2 separate regions of the Homo sapiens genome follow, and region 1 is linked to region 2. Evidence: promoter capture Hi-C in 16 types of primary human blood cells and fetal thymus (Javierre and others, 2016). All regions are on one chromosome and are shown on one strand. The core of a region is centred on a gene start or on the middle of the fragment in contact, and the rest is flanking DNA. Distances in the headings are between cores, read along the strand shown. Region 1 overlaps HSD11B1-AS1 (HSD11B1 antisense RNA 1). Region 2 holds the start of UTP25 (UTP25 small subunit processome component).

What was found. The method cuts DNA at HindIII sites, captures the fragments that hold promoters and counts their contacts. A CHiCAGO score of 5 or more calls a contact.
Region 1: a contact is called between a fragment that was not itself captured here and the fragment with the promoter of UTP25 in region 2, in 5 of 17 cell types (neutrophils, non-activated CD4 T cells, activated CD4 T cells and 2 more). The highest score is 13.8, in neutrophils.

What each region holds. Positions count from the first base shown.
Region 1 is chr1:209,695,887-209,698,906 of GRCh38, reverse strand. All of the region lies in intron 1 of HSD11B1-AS1 (HSD11B1 antisense RNA 1), which reads left to right. It also overlaps a transcript of HSD11B1 not described here. Among named protein-coding and RNA genes, the nearest start is that of HSD11B1, 7.4 kb to the left of the region's middle. The HindIII fragment of the contact is 1,332 bases long and covers 1,105-2,436 here.
Region 2 is chr1:209,826,132-209,829,318 of GRCh38, reverse strand. It overlaps UTP25 (UTP25 small subunit processome component), which reads right to left and starts at 1,347. Exons shown (of 12, transcript NM_014388.7): 1 at 1,149-1,347. The coding sequence starts at 1,255. RefSeq lists an enhancer at 1,258-1,307. The HindIII fragment of the contact is 3,327 bases long and covers 1-2,428 here.

The DNA.
Region 1 (3,020 bases), core at 521-3,020, 130 kb after region 2:
TGAGAGGGTAGAATACCTGGAATCTATTTGCCTGGGAGAGCCAAGGGCCTTCTAGGAAAGAAGAGACCCTCACGAGGTCACGAGCATGGTCTGATCCCTGCCCCCAGTGGAGATGGAGATGCAAAGAGTTCTTTTTATAATCAAAAAAATTCTGTTGTTTTTATGTTTTAAGGGCATGATCTAAGTAGACAGTTCTAAGCATGTTGTAGTTGTAGTTTTTCAGGTTTTCTCTCTTGCCTAGCTCCTGTGGATTCACATCTGAGCATAGAAGAGAGAGGGGGCCATGTAAGAACTAAACAAAGTTATTCAATGGAAGGTCTGTTGAAACATTGGCAGCATGGGGAGCAGTGGGAGAGCCCCACACAGCTGAGAGGACTGACCTCAGCATGACCACCACAGGGCTTTGGCCCATCTTGTGTTTTTTCTTGGTTGGCCAGCCCAACTTTCAGGAAGCACGCTAGGGTGACACCACAGCCCCAGCCAGGTGGGCATCTCAAGGTTCCAGGGATGTCAGCATTAGAAGGAAGTCACTTGCCCCTGGTGGGACATAGGGTTGCCAGATTTAGCAAATAGAAATACAGAATGCCCAGTTAAATCTGAATTTCAGATAAATGACAAATACAGTTAAATCTGAATTTCAGATAAATGACAAATAGTTATTTTAAGGATGCCTGTCTGTCTGTCCTTCCTATCTATCTATCTATCTATCTATCTATCTATCTATCTATCTATCTATCTAATCTATCTATCTTATCTACCTATCCTCTATCTAAGCTGTCTACCTATCAAGATGGGATAAACTGTTGAAAGAAATATTCCTAAACTATTGAAGGAAAGATGTCTTGAAAGGAACATACTTACACTAAAACATGATTCAAGCCAGGTTTGGTGGCTCTTGGCTGTAATCCCAGCCACTGGGGAGGCCAAAGAGAGGATCACTTGTGGCTAGGAGTTTGAGATCAGCTTGGGAAACATAGCAAGACCCTCATCTCAAAAAAAAAAAAAAAAAAAAAAAAAAAAAAGGAAAAAACAAAACCATTAATCATTCATTGTTTATCTGAAATTTGGATTTAACTGGGTGAACTGTGTTTAATTTGAAAAGCTTAGAAGTGGCAGTGGGCTTTAAGAACCTGAGAAATGGTCTCAGGTGTGGACAAAACATTCTGGACCATGCCTACTGATAGCCATCTGGTCTACCTTTACCAAAGTGGAGCCCAGCATCCTGGCCACAAACAGCCCAAAAAGGCAAAAGAGGTACATACCACATGGTAGCTGGGTGGAGGAATCATCTACTAACATTTATTTAGTTAGGTATTTACTGTTGGTCAGGTACTATGAATAAAAACACCATTGAAATGCTCTCCATGCCCTAGAAGAAGAAGACGTGGAAATAAATGAAATGTGTAAGACATTACCAGTGCGCTAATGGAAGTCTACAGTAGGGGCATAATGAAGGGAGTAGCCCATTCTACATGTGGGACGGGCCAGCAGGAGCTGCTTCCAGGAAGTTGTTCATTTTGATCCATGTTGAAATATGAGCAGGAATGTTCCAGGAAATGAAGAATGATAACAGTGAGCATTGAGTTGGGTTCAGGAGTGTGTGGGGAGAGGGGAGGGCTAGTTTGTAGAACATTCTTTGCACAGGAAGCTGTGTGGGAAAATAGAAAGAGGTGTGAAAGAGAAAGTCATGTTTGGGAAACTATGAACAGTTCCATGTGGCTGGATAACTGAATTTTACAAGGTGGGGTTACACAGTAAGAAGCCTGGAGAGGCAAGCAGAGGCACATCTTTGAGGGCCATGAATGCCCACTGTTGGAGTCTGTAGTTCTGGCCATTTGTTCTCAAGTCATGAAGGCTTTGCCCTCTGTGGCTTCTTCATCCCCATCCCAGAACTCTATCCCCTGGCTCTTTGTATCCCCTCATTGCCTTATGCAAAAAATTCTGAATCTTCTGCACTCTTTCAGCTCTTCAATCCAGCTTCACACCCTCCATCAGCACTTCACTCTTCCTGCCAGGCTGTGCTGGGTATGGCCTTGACCCTGAGGGCTTGCAGCCCCTGGAGCTATGCCCAGCAATGTTATTGGGCTGCCCTATAACCAGCTGGATTTTTCTACCATGCTTTTTTTCTCTTTGATCCTTCTCATTAAGTATCACTTGCCACTTTAACCTCCCCAAATATCCTCCTCCCTTGGCTTCTGTCAATTCATAGTCACCAGGCTTTTCTTTCTGTTTCTCTCACTGCTTCTCAGTTTTCTTTATAGGCTTATCTTTTCTTCTGGATTCCTTGAATGTTGGAGTTGGCCTTGATTCGGTTCTCATTTTTTGTCTGTATTCCCTGCGTAATTCCCTTCTCTCTCATGGTTATAATTACAACCTTTGTGTTGATGGATGAGTCTTAAAAGTCTCTATTTCCTGTGCAGCAATTTCTCCTAAGCTTCAGGTAGTATAACCACCTGCTTACCCAAACCCTCTCCTTCTGAGGGCCTCCTAAACATCTCAAATTCATCATGCTGAAACTGACATGATTATTTTTTAACGGCTTTATTGCAGTGCAATTTATATACTAGCAAATTATCTCATTTTAAGTGTACAATTCAATGATTTTGAATAAATTTGCAGAGTTGAGAAATCATTACTGCAATCTAATTTAGAACATTTCCATCTCCCAAAAAGATTTCTTGTGCCCATTTACAGTCACTCCCTGTTTCCACCCCCAGCCCCAGGCAACCAGTAATTTTATTTCCATGTATAGACTTGCCTGCCCTGGACATTTTATATTAGTAGAACTACACAACGTGTAATCTTTTGTCTGACTTCTTTCACTTAACATGTTTTTGAGATTCTTCCGTATTGTAACATGTGTCATTTATTGACAAATCATATTCCATTGTATGGATGTACCACATTTTGTTGATCCATTCACCAGTTCACAGACATTTGGAATTTTCCCCTGTTTTTTGCTATTATGGACAGTGCTGCAATGAACATTGGTATGAAAATTTTTGTGTGAACGTATGTTT
Region 2 (3,187 bases), core at 98-2,597:
CTTTAAAAACACACACAACATATGATGTGACTATAACTAACAATTTATTGTATATTTTCAAATGGCTAGAAGAGCGGATTTTCAATGTTCCCAACGCAAAGAATTGATGTTTGAGATGATGAATATGCTAATTACCCGGATTTGATCATTACACATTGGGTACATGTATTGTTATCAAAATATCACACTGTATCCCACAAATATGTACAATCATTTTATGTAAGTTAAAAATAATTATAAAAACAGGCCAAGCGCGGTGGTTCACGCCTGTAATTCCAGCACTTTGGGAGGCCAAGGCGGGCAGATCACCCGAGGTCAGTAGTTCGAGACCACCCTAGCTAACATGGTGAAACCCCGTCTCAACTAAAAATACAAAAAATTGATCGGGTGTGATGGCGGGCGCCTGTAATCCCAGCTACACGGGAAGCTGAGGCAGGAGAATCGCTTAAGCCCGGGAGACGGAGGTTGCAGTGAGCTGAGATCGCGCCACTGCACTCCAGCCTGGGCGACAAAGCGAGACTCTGTCTTAAAAAAAAAAAATTATATATATACATATATATATGTGTGTCTACAAAAAATTCCTAGATCTCTGACCACACAAAAATCCGCCCCCATAGCTGGGCGCGGTGGCTCACGCCTGTAATCCCAGCACTTTGGGAGGCCGAGGTGGGTGGATCACCTGAGGTCAGGAGTTCAAGACCAGCCTGGCCAACATGGTGAAACCCCATCTCTACTAAAAATACAAAAAATCAGCCGGGCTTGGTGGCGGGCGCCTGTAATCCCAGCTACACGGGAGGCTGAGGCAGGAGCATCGCTTGAACCCGGGAGGAGACAGAGGTTGCAGTGAGCCAAGATCGCGCCATTGCACTCCAGCCTGGGCGACAGAGCGAAACACCGTCTTAAAAAAAAAAAAAAAATCCTCCCCCACACAACGGGCGTGCCTCTTAGCAGGAAATTACAGGCTCAACAAAAAGGCCCGTGAAGCACTCCATCTCCCGGCGGGATGGCGCCAGAATCTCCCCGGCCGAGCACAGCGGGAGCCAGGGAATAGTGGGAAAAGGCCGGAGCAGCACTATCTGGGAGACCAGAGGACCAAACTCGAGGATACATCTCTGGCGACTGGGGAGCCCTGCCACGCCCCTTCAGACCTGTCATAGAAGGGATGCTCCTCGCCGAAATCTCGAAGATGTTTCTTCTGCTTTTTAGTTAGGGTGTTGAGTAGCTGGCTCTGGCTCCGGCTCCCGCGTTTGCCCATAGCGAAAACGTCAAGTTTGCCCACTTGCAAGAGTCGCGGTTTTCCACCAGGAAGTTGTCCAGTCAACACAAGCACGTGGGCTCGCTGACTGCGCTTTACGGCGAAAGCAAGGTGCCATAAAGCAGATCCGCTTTACGTCGCGCTCGTACGACAGGCTTAGAACATCCGGTTCCCGGTTCTGCCCCCTACCGCAGCTCTTTGAAAGCACGGGAGTTCGTTCACTAGTGTTCTCAGAGCCCTAGAACGTGGGCAGCTGGGCTTCCCGGGTTGCGTGAGTCGGGGGCATGAGCTTTGTGCTTGTGTTTTGGTTATGGAAATCAGTCTGCGTAAATGTGTAGTAGCGGAGATAGTCGAATGCAGTGACTTTACAGTATACTGCAATAAAAATATCAACCAACATTTAAGGGTGCCTGAACATCTCACTTCATCACCACAACAGTGTACAGATAGGTCTTGTTAATAAGCCTGGTGTTGCAGATAAGGAAACTGATGCTTAGAAAAGATAACACGCTAGCGGCCGGGCGCGGTGGCTCACGCCTGTAATCTCAACACTTTGGGAGGCCGAGATGGGCGGATCACCTGAGGTCAGGAGTTCGAGACCAGCATGGCCAAACATGGTGAAACCCCGTCTCTACTAAAAGTACAAAAATCAGCCGGGCGTGGTAGCGGGCGCCTGTAATCCCAGCTACTCAGGAGGTGAGGCAGGAGAATCGCTGGAACCCGGGAGGTGGAGGTTGCAATGAGCCGAGATCACTCCACTGCACTCCAGCCTACTCCAGCCTGGGCGACAAAAGCTAGACTCCATCTCGAAAAAAAAAAAAAAGAAGAAAAGAAAAGAAAAGATAACACGCTAGCAAGAGAAGAGAGAAAAACCTTAACTGATGCAACCACATGCTTTTACCCATTAGGGTCTGCCGCCTGTGTGTGTTATATCAATCATGGGGCCCACAAGTCTGAGATTCCCACCCTCACCCTATTCTCGCATTTTCTGAAAGTATTGGAAGAGTCCCCGCAAACAAATCTGTTCCAGCATTCCCCATTTAACAACAGCAGAAACACATCTAGAGAGGTAAAGTGACTTTACTGAAATCACCCCAGTCAATGCTAGAAAAGGCTGTGAAACCCAATCCAGTGTCTCATAACTGAACTCGGACAAAAGGGGATGGAAAAGCTTTTGAAGGTAAAGGAACCATCTTACATTTTGATCATGCTAGTAGTTACACCTTGTATACATAAGAAAAGTTAAACTGTACAGTTAAAATGGGTGAATTTTAATGTATTTAAATAACACCTAAATAAACAGGAAAAAGCAAAAATATAAAAGTAGACTCAGTATTCTAGGGATTTGCAAGTGTGCAGGGCTGCTTGAGACCACAGGATAAAGATGGTGAGATCCTTTTCCTAATAGTAACTTATGCTACCATGTTCTATAGAAACAGAGTGCTTAAATCATAAGCCGCAGAATTCACTTGAATATTTACGGTAAAACAGGAGCGTCCAAAATGAGAGAAATGAGAAGCAAAATAATAGCTCTGCTATTGGAGTGCTACTGTGGGAAATTTGGGTTTTCCCTGATACTGTGTCACACCATAGAAGTTGTAATAAAACCATTAGAATGCGATTCTTGTCAGTTCTAGTGACCATCTACTATTCCTAATTAGATTCGGAGAGGCTGGGGTGGGGATGGGAGGACAGGGCCGGAGAATATGAGGAACACATGCAAACAGAGCGGGTGGTGCCCAGCAGCTGGGCCAGCCAAGGAACCCATAAATAGCCATTTGTCTTCTATGTAATTTCAAGATAAAAGGTACAGTCACTTAGGTCAACAAAAGCCTGTTTGCAAGATGTCATCATATATTTTAAGGTGCTGACCACAGTATAACTTGGCTATAGCAATAAAGAGCCATCCTTTTTCCCCCTCCCAACATATCC